Regions from separate parts of the Homo sapiens genome. Here region 1 is linked to region 2. Evidence: promoter capture Hi-C in 16 types of primary human blood cells and fetal thymus (Javierre and others, 2016). All regions are on one chromosome and are shown on one strand. Each heading gives the region's core, a stretch centred on a gene start or on the middle of the fragment in contact. The rest is flanking DNA. Distances are from core to core; before and after follow the strand shown.

Region 1 (5,074 bases), core at 566-3,065, 49 kb after region 2:
AGAGTAGGAAGTATCTCGATAGAATAAGTACTGGAGGGCCAGGCGTGGTGGCTCACGCCTGTAATTCCAACACTGTAGGAGGCCAAGGTGGGTAGATCATAAGGTCAGGAGTTCGAGACTAGCCTGGCCAAGATGGTGAAACCCCATCTCTACTAAAAATACAAAAAAATTAGCCAGATGTGGTGGCAGATGCCTGTAATCCCAGCTACTTGGGAGGCTGAGGCAGAGAATTGCTTGAACCTGGGAGGCGGGGGTTGCAGTGAGCCAAGATTGTGCCACTGCATCCCAGCCTAGGTGACACAGAGAGACTCCGTCTCAAAAAATAAATAAATAAATAAATAATAAATAATAAAAATAAAATAAAATAAAAAATAAGTACTGGATGTTATAGGAGACAAAAGAGTAAATCTAAGCCAGTGTTGGGGGGGAATTAAGGAAGGCTTCCTGGAAGACAGCATGACTAAGTAAAGAAACTGAAGGACAAATAAGAGTTATCAAGTAAAAAAAGGAAGAGTGGTGCCAGTGCAGTGGCTCATGCCTGTAATCCCAGCACTTTGGGAGGCTGAGGTGGGTGGATCACTTGAGTCTAGGAGTTTGAGACCAGCCTGGGCAACATGACGAAACCCCATCTCTACAAAAAATACAAAAAAAAAAAAACATAGTCTGGGTGACAGAATGAGACCTTGTCTAAAAGAAAAAAAAAAGGAAGAGTGTTGTAGGAAGGGGGAAGAGTATATGCAAAGGCTCAGAGGTATGAGGGATTAACAACTTTTGAGATGCTGAAAATTGAGTGTGAGTGCAACACAGAGTGGAGGCTGATGGAGAAGTTCTAATCAGCTATGCAAGGGGCCTAGACTTGATCCAAAGGCAATATATGAGAATACTCGTATATTAGAGAAATGACTGACTTCAGAGAGGAGAATGAAATAAGGGCTTAGAGCCAGGCGGTTCTGGGTAAATCAGGCATTTACAATGGTGCAAGCTTGGGTGAGCTATTTAACCTTTGAGGCCTAAGATTCCTCTCCTGTTGAAAGGGGCAACTTAATATGGTAACCTCCCAGGGTTGTTACAAGGATTAGCAATAAAAAGTGTTGAGTTCTTAGCACAGTGTCTGGCACTTAGTAGTTGCTCCATAAATGGTGCCTAGCAGTATTGTCACAGTTGGGAGAAGGGCAAAATCGGAGGCAAGGAAACAATCTGTTGCAGCAGTCCAAGCAAGATGTGGGAAGGTGTGGCCTGCAGTAGCAGAGAGGATGAGCAGAAGTCAGTGGAGGGGGCCAGCACGGTGGCACATACCAGCACTTTGAAAGGCCAAGGCGGGCAGATCACTTGAGCCCAGGAGTTTGAGACCAGCCTGGCCAACATGGTGAAACCCCTTCTCTACTAAAAATACAAAAATTGGCTGTGCCAATTTTTGGCACATGCCTGTAATCCCAGCTACTTGGGAGGCTGAGACATGAGAATCTCTTGAGCCTGGGAGGCGGAGGTTGCAGTGAGCTGAGATTGTGCCACTGCTCTGCAGCCTGGGCGACAGAGCCAGACTCTGTCTCAAGAAAAAAAAAAATAAAAAAATAAGTCAATGAAGGGGTGATATTGAGGATGTGAGGTGGAGAGGATTTGGTGTCCAATCAGATGTGAGGGGTGAGTAGTCACACATGACTTCCCTTGATCTGTGTGTTGATGTGTGCACTTGCACACAGGATATGCAGGCATTTTAGAGGTATCTATTCAGTTCTGAGAATGGCTCTTGACAGTTGCTGGATCCGGCCAACAGTGAAGGGCCAGGGCAGTATCTGAGGACCTGGCCCTCAGTCTCCCAGAAGAACCCCCGCCTCTGCCCTCTGCCCCAATCCCTCCTGAACTATTTCCTTTCCCCCTTTTCACCCATTTCTCCCTCTCCCCACCTTCCATCACCTCCCCTACATAGGAACCCGCTGTAAGTTATAAGCCTACCTAGGCCCACTTTCCACCGCCTCAGTTAATGAAGGTCCTTGGGACTCAGCTACCAACATTAACACCTCCTCCCCACATAGCCTCAATGGGACGCCCCCCTCTGGATTTCAAAGCGCTGTTCAATGCCCCCATCCACCCCCACCTCGCGTGGACGTGTGAGGCAAGAAGGACGGTTGAAGCTGAGGCAGGATTTGGGGGGTCTTAGCCCCCAGCCACAGCTGTGGGGGAGATAGGCACCCTCAGAAGGACAGGACAGGTCGTGAGCTCCGGGGCTGCTGGGAGGTCTCTTGCGGCCTAGGCCAGGCTCAGGGCCGCCGGGGATCTCGCCTCCATCCCGTGCCTCAGTGTCCCGGCGCGGCCGAGGGGCGGGCGGCAGGGGGCGGGGCGCGGGCGGGGCCGGCCGGGCCAGGCGCCCGGGCAGGAGGCAGCTGCATATCTGCGGTCCCGACCACAATTGCTGGGAGTCGCGTCCCGGAGACTGGCGGCGCTGACTCTGCCCGCTGCGGCCGCCGCGCCGATTAGAGCCCGAGAGGGAGCGCCAGCCCGGGGGAGGGGGCGGCGGCGGGGGAACTCCGGATGCCCCTTCGCCTCCGCCCAGCCAGCGCCCCCCGCTGCCCGGCCCAGTCCTTTCTCAGCCGCCCGAACCCAGGACCGGAGTCCTGCCTCTTCCGCCGTAGCTTTCTCGAGGCTGCATCCAAGCTTCTTCCTCCGGATCTTGCAGTGCCCGAGGTCCCGACGGTGCCAACATCCCGTTGGCCCCCAGCCTGCCAGTCTCTCATGCCCTTTCTCTTCCCCATCACCCCACACAGAGAGGAGTAGGGATCTCAGAGCTCCCCCATTCTCTTATCCTCCGCTCCCCAATGCACTCTCTAAGCAAAAGCCGTTCCAAGCGAAGAAGAGAATCAGAGACTCAGAGGACGGGCTTTCCAGGGCCGGAGCACCCCCTGCTGGCTGGCCCGAAGCCCCTCCCCCTCCCCCTCCAGCTGTGACCTCCAGCTGTGGTGGCTGGGAAGAGCTGGCCCCTTTGATCTAGGAGCGTGGCAACCCCCTCCAGGCGCCCCATTAACCTCCATTATCCCAATTAGGCAGCCCTCCCAGTCCTGGATCCAAGCTTCAAAGCCCCCTCAGTTGGGAGAAAAGGGAGCTGAATCGTATGCCCCCTACCTCCCCACCAAGCCACACCACTTTCAGACAAGACCCAGGTGCTCTGGTCTCCAGCTTGTGTACATGATAGCAGGGCCAGAAGAGGGACCCTCAGGGGCCACCCTCGTCCCAATACTGAAACTTCATTAAAAAGAGAAGCAGATAGGCAAGGGGACCCTCTTTTGCTGGCCCATTTTCCTGCATTCAGTGATTTCAGTGGCAGCATCCAGGTTCCTGGCTGACCTGAGCTTCCCATCAACTTATCCAGCTTTATCCTGTGGAAAGGGGAGCCAAGAACCAACCCACTCCTCCCTTAATCCTATCTCAACACTCCCTTCCTCCCTCCCTCCTGGAACAATTTCCGCTGGGGGAGCCAGAGCAGGGCCCAGCACAGTGGCCGCTTCCTGGAACATTTTCCTGTATCCGAAACCGCGGCTCCCTCCCTAGGGACCGGCTGATCAAGGCCAGATGGGAGAAGGGATGGGGGAGGAGGAGAGGGAGCCAGGCTCTCACCATCACCCCCTCCCAACACATAGGCACACCACAGGAGCCCCTGCCCTGACACACAGAGGCTGACACAGGCACACACCACATGTCATAGTCACACCATGGGCATTCATGGGGACACATGAACCACAGAGGCCAGGTCTTAGAAGAAGTTAACACACCCGTAGATGATCACCCTCTCTCTCTACCTGGCCCTCTAAAGGACCCTAAGGCCTTTCTTGCCAGATAAGGAGACCTTAGGAATCCAAGAACATTGGCACAGGATAGCAGAAGGACCTCAATTAACAGAGGAGACAGACAGAGACATCTAATGTGCCCTGCCAGACAACACCCACCAACCATCCCATTCCAATTCTAGATGGCACTCAGGCCTGCCTAACCCATCATCTCTCCAGGATCCTGGGAACTGGGGTAGAGGAAGGCTGTGGGAGCTTCTTCTCAAGTGCTACCTTCAGAGCACTTTCTAGTTGCTTCCAGATTCTTGGAGAAGATGCATATGATGTCTAGTGGGCTCGCTCATGGCAGCCAAGGGACAAAGAAAGGGGAAGAATGTGTGCAGCTGCAGGGAGCTCTGGGAGCCTAGAGGAGGAAGGAGAACACCAGAGTAACTCCTGGAGACAGAGAGTAACCCTGGGGATTTTGTGGCCTTACTGGTGACATACTGCCCCAGCACTGCTCCTCCTGATCTCTTCTATCTCAGTCTTGGTGATTGAGAAGAAGAGGGTAGGGATTATGCCCCCAGCTTAGCCCATTCTTCAACCATATTATCTTCTGCCCATCACATTTCCAGTACAACACCCTACTTTTTTTTTTTTTTAGACGGAGTCTTGCTCTGTCACCCAGGCTGGAGTGCAGTGGCATGATCTCAGCTCACTGCAACCTCTGCCTCCTGGGTTCAAGCGATCCTCCTACCTCAGCCTCCCGAGTAGGTGGGACTACAGGCGTGCGCCACCACTCCTGGCTAATTTTTGTATTTTTAGTAGAGATGGGGTTTCACTATGTTGGCCAGGCTGGTGTCGAACTCCTGACCTCAGGTTATCCACCCACCTTGGCCTCCCAAAGTGCTGGGATTACAGGTGTGAGCCACCACGCCTGGCCCTGAAGACCCTAATTTTTTTTTTTTTTAGACGGAGTCTCGCTCTGTCGCCCAGGCTGGAGTGCAGTGGCACGATCTTGGCTCACTGCAAGATCCGCCTCCCGGGTTCACACCATTCTCCTGCCTCAGCCTCCCGAGTAGCTGGGACTACAGGCGCCCGCCAGCAGGCCCGGCTAATTTTTTGTATTTGTATTATTATTTTTATTATTTATTTATTTTTTGAGACGGAGTCTCGCTCTGTCACCCAGGCTGGAGTGCAGTGGCACGATCTCGGCTCACTGCAAGCTCCACCTCCCAGGTTCATGCCATTCTCCTGCCTCAGCCTCCCGAGTAGCTGGGACTACAGGCGCCCACCACCACTCCTGGCTAATTTTT
Region 2 (5,004 bases), core at 2,450-4,949:
GTCTTGGTCCTAGACAAGGTAAGGAGCTGGGGCAGAGGGGCAGTGTCTAGTGGGGAGTGAATACCAACTCATCCCCATGCCCCTTCTGACTTCTGCATATACCTGGCTGGGGACAGTAACCTCTTAGTGCTTTTTGCCCAGGACTTGCAGAAGCTGCCGTGGGAAAGCATGCCCAGCCTCCAAGCACTGCCTGTCACCCGGCTGCCCTCCTTCCGCTTCCTACTCAGCTACTCCATCATCAAAGAGGTGGGGTTCAGGGCGTAGTGTCTGGGGATGACTGGCGACTGGGGAAGACGTCAACAAAGAAGGGCAGAGAAACCTGAGAAGATAGGAGAGGGTCCTAGGAATGGCTCAGACATGGAAAGGGGCTGAGATTGTTAGAGCTTGGGCCTCTTGGTGAGACAAGCATCCTAATCGCCAGTGTCTCCTCCTCAGTATGGGGCCTCGCCAGTGCTGAGTCAAGGGGTGGATCCACGAAGTACCTTCTATGTCCTGAACCCTCACAATAACCTGTCAAGCACAGAGGAGCAATTTCGAGCCAATTTCAGCAGGTCAGGGGCGCGAAGACAAGAAGACGTGTGGGGAAGGGTAGACAACATACAGGGGCAACAAGCCTTTTCTCCAGAAACAGCTGTTGCAGCCCACCTTCTATCTAATGATCCCTCTGCTGTCTTTGCCACCTGACCCCTGCCATGCATTTCCCTATTCTCACACCTGCCTTTTCCCTGCAGTGAAGCTGGCTGGAGAGGAGTGGTTGGGGAGGTGCCAAGACCTGAACAGGTGCAGGAAGCCCTGACAAAGCATGATTTGTATATGTGAGTGCTTAAGGCAGGGATGTGGGGAGAGGGGCAGTCCTGAGGATGGTATCACCATGGGTTGCTTTGGGACTTGAGAGCCTCTGAAGACACAGGCAGAGGCCAGGTATTACTAGCTCAAGACTCATCTCACCTCCTTCTGCCTTAGCTATGCAGGGCATGGGGCTGGTGCCCGCTTCCTTGATGGGCAGGCTGTCCTGCGGCTGAGCTGTCGGGCAGTGGCCCTGCTGTTTGGCTGTAGCAGTGCGGCCCTGGCTGTGCGTGGAAACCTGGAGGGGGCTGGCATCGTGCTCAAGTACATCATGGCTGGTTGGTGAGTCTCCAAGGGCAAGACCCATCCTAGGGCATTAGGACTCCTGCCCTCACCCCAGGTTCTTTCCCAGGTCTGAATCTTGCCTCTCTTGTGCCCCATTTTCCTCCTATCCTAGTTAGTTCCCTGGCATGCCTGGACCATTAACCCTTAGCTCCCTTCTGTTCTTCTCTTGTAACCAAGGGCCAAAGGAGTTTCTCATTGGTTCAATCCTCTCCACTCACCCACCCCCACCACCAATGGTGTTTTCCTATGTATTCTGTTTTAGAGCCCTTACTTTGTATTTCCTCCTTTTCTTTTCCCAGCCCCTTGTTTCTGGGTAATCTCTGGGATGTGACTGACCGCGACATTGACCGCTACACGGAAGCTCTGCTGCAAGGCTGGCTTGGAGCAGGCCCAGGGGCCCCCCTTCTCTACTATGTAAACCAGGCCCGCCAAGCTCCCCGACTCAAGTATCTTATTGGGGCTGCACCTATAGCCTATGGCTTGCCTGTCTCTCTGCGGTAACCCCATGGAGCTGTCTTATTGATGCTAGAAGCCTCATAACTGTTCTACCTCCAAGGTTAGATTTAATCCTTAGGATAACTCTTTTAAAGTGATTTTCCCCAGTGTTTTATATGAAACATTTCCTTTTGATTTAACCTCAGTATAATAAAGATACATCATTTAAACCCTGTTTTGCGTAGTTTATCTGAGAACATTTAAAGACACGGCATGACTGCCCCCTTCCTACTATGTGGTACTGTAAGCTGACAGGAACAGGTTACAGCAGATCAAGTTTGAGTGCTTGGGGAAGAAAGGCAAAGACACAGGACAAAGCCTGCTGGGCCTGGCTGGGCCTCAGCAGACAAATCTGGAGGAGAAAGGGGCATCAAAATGCTAAGTAGAGACAGGCCCAAGGAAGGGTAGTGATAGACCCTTTGAGAGTGTTTTGGCCAGGTACCATCCGTCCGTCCTGTCTTCCTGCCGCAGGTATCTTTGGAGTGGCACTAGTGTTTTGTTTTTTGTTTTTGTTTTTTTTTGAGACAGAGTCTTGCTCTGTTGCCCATGCTGGAGTGCAGTGGCGCAATCTCGGCTCACTGCAACCTCTGCCTGCTGGGTTCAAGCGATTCTCCTGCCTCAGCCTCCTGAGTAGCTGGAACTACAGGCACATGCCGCCACGTCCCACTAATTTTTGCATTTTTAGTAGAGACAGGGTTTCACCATATTGGCCAGGCTGGTCTCGAACTCCTGACCTTGTGATCCACCCTCCTCAGCCTCCCAAAGTGCTGGGATTACAGGCGTGAGCCACCGCGCCCAGCCATGGCACTAGTTTTAATGCCTCAGTTGCCCTGCCTGCCTCCTAAGTAGATGTTAAAGGCTACTGCTGTCTGCCCATGTACACCTGTTACACTTACCAATGTGTAACTTTAGCAGTAGAGTCTGTGGATCTGTGGAGTTCTAGTGTGGTTTTTCTCTCCAATTGTTAAGCTCAAGGGAAGCAAGTATCTTACACTCTCACGTATCCCTCACATACAGCACATGGTAAAACCTTTTTTTTTTTGAGACAGAGTCTAGCTCTGTTGCTAGTGTGCACAATCACAGCCTACTGCAGCCTCAACTCTCCAGCTCAAGCGATCCTCCCACCTCAGCCTCCCATGTAGCTGGGACTACAGGCGTGTGCCACCAGCCCGGCTAATTTTTGTATTTTTTGTGGAGACGGGGTGTCGCCGTGTTGCCCAAGCTGGTCTCAAACTCCTGGGCTCAAGCAATCTGTCCTTCTCGGCCTCCCAAAGTGCTGGGATTGCAGGCGTGAGCCACCATGCCCGGCCAAAATATTTTATTGATTAATTTGTGCTGTACTTGGTTGACAATGGCGCTTCCTTGCTGTTCTCCCACCACCTCACTGGCAACGGGTGATAAACCCTTTTTCAGATCCTACTACGTGTCAGCCTACTTCCGGCTGGGGGAAGATGGTTATAGCGAGAGGGGAAGAATTGGTTCAGTGATGAGAACATGGTTGGTTCCTGCCTTCGACAAGCTTTCAATCTAATGCCTGTTTTTTTCCAAGGACAATTCAGAACGGTCTGACAAGGGATTTTTTTTTTTTTCCTGCCTTTCGGCCTCAGAGGCCATCTGGGAAAAAGAGTTTAGAATTTCCCTGCCATTTCCATGCCGTGCTGGGAGGAACATTTGAAATCGGGCCTGGCGGGGTACCAGCAGGCAGCAATAGCAAGCGGGGTGGAGAGGAGCAGGGCCAGGCCCCCGAGCCGTCGCCATGGCAATCCAGCCTGCTTTCCAGTAGCTTATACCACCCACGTGGAGTAGCATACACTACTTTGTAATATCGTGGTTGTGTCGTGAGAACTTTAAGATTTTGCAGTTCCTTGTAGGCAGGAGTCCTGTTTGCTGCTACTTTACAATACTAGGCTTAAGACATTTTATGAAATGAACTCACACAACAGTCTCTGAGAGGCTCAAGCCCCTCCTTCCCTTCCGGGACGGAGGATCATAGAGCTGTCTGGCGCAGCGAGGCCTCCCGGCGCCACCGAGACGCGCAGAGGACGGCTAGAGCGTTGCTCGCCGAGAGACTTCCTCTTCGTTAAGTCGGCCTTCCCAACATGGCGCAGTCTATTAACATCACGGAGCTGAATCTGCCGCAGCTAGAAATGCTCAAGAACCAGCTGGACCAGGTGGGGACGGGCCCCAGAGGCACCTCTTTCCTGCTCTACATCCCCCTTGCCCACGCGTACTTCTCGCGCCCGGTTCCAAGTTGGCAGCCTACCTTTCCCAGGCGAAACCTCTATCCGATCCCAGGACCTGCCCCCTCCCCGGCCGCGCTCCTTTCTCCCCTTAGTCCTCTCATTGACCCGCTATCCCGGTCCTCTGTAGGAAGTGGAGTTCTTGTCCACGTCCATTGCTCAGCTCAAAGTGGTACAGACCAAGTATGTGGAAGCCAAGGACTGTCTGAACGTGCTGAACAAGAGCAACGAGGGTATGGGGTAGGCGGGTGAGGGTAACCTAAAGTGGCGAACCTGCTTCTCTCGTCCCACCTCCTAACCCAGTTTTTCTTACCTGAAACGAGAAAATCCATTACATATCGTATACCGCTTCATGAACCCTTTGCATGTTGCCTGCCTAGAATTGAAAAGTACAGGACATTCCTCTGCTCCTATTGCCCCTGTTTCCGTTCTTTTCACACTGTCTGTGGGTGCTGTGCCCTGTTGGAACTCTCTTTAACGTCTTACGTTGGAGCCGCTAACCTTCCCCAGGTGTTTGTCTTCATTGCTTTCACAGGGAAAGAATTACTCGTCCCACTGACGAGTTCTGTATCCTTTCCACAGGAACGGCTACCTGCTGCCTTCTCCCTTTCTCCTTCACTCCCCCAAAAAGCGGGGAGGGGGATTGTTTTGATTACTTCAGATTACCCTCTCCTCACAATGATTTTGAGGATACCCTTTTTTTTTTTCTTTCTTTTTTGAGACGGAATTTCGCTCTGTCGCCCAGGCTGGAGCGCAATGGTGAGATCTTGGCTTACTGCAACCTCCGCCTCCCGAGTTCAAGAGATTCTTCTGCCTCAGTCTCCCGAGTAGCTGGGACTTTAGGTACGCGCCACCACGACCGGCTAATTTTTGTATTAATAGTAGAGTTGGGGGTTTCACCATATTGGCCAGGCTAGTCTCGAACTCCTGACCTCGTGATCCGCCTGCCTCGGCCTCCCAAAGTGCTAGGATTACATTACAGGCGTGAGCCACTGCCCCCGGCCAAGAATACTCTTATTACACACTTTGTAGCTCTTTTATCTGACTTCACACCAACATCCAGCTAATGTCTTGTGAACACCAAGGAGTATGTATAGTTGAGATGTAATATTTCCCTTTGCTGTTTGAGAACATTAAT

What was found. Contacts are between HindIII fragments. The CHiCAGO score rates a contact against its expected background, and 5 or more counts as called.
Region 1: a contact is called between a fragment that was not itself captured here and the fragment with the promoter of PFDN5 in region 2, in 1 of 17 cell types (erythroblasts). The highest score is 5.5, in erythroblasts.

Annotation. Positions count from the first base shown.
Region 1 is chr12:53,342,498-53,347,571 of GRCh38, forward strand. It overlaps a transcript of SP7 not described here. Among named protein-coding and RNA genes, the nearest start is that of SP7, 8.7 kb to the left of the region's middle. RefSeq lists silencers at 2,365-2,534, 2,925-2,984. The HindIII fragment of the contact is 1,670 bases long and covers 981-2,650 here.
Region 2 is chr12:53,291,843-53,296,846 of GRCh38, forward strand. PFDN5 (prefoldin subunit 5) reads left to right here and starts at 3,700. Exons shown (of 6, transcript NM_002624.4): 1 at 3,700-3,797; 2 at 3,997-4,099; 3 at 4,402-4,433. The coding sequence starts at 3,726. It overlaps ESPL1 (extra spindle pole bodies like 1, separase), which reads left to right. Exons shown (of 31, transcript NM_012291.5): 26 at 1-18; 27 at 142-246; 28 at 436-551; 29 at 732-815; 30 at 964-1,128; 31 at 1,431-1,796. The coding sequence ends at 1,632. RefSeq lists enhancers at 3,383-3,922, 3,408-4,607. The HindIII fragment of the contact is 3,517 bases long and covers 3,144-5,004 here.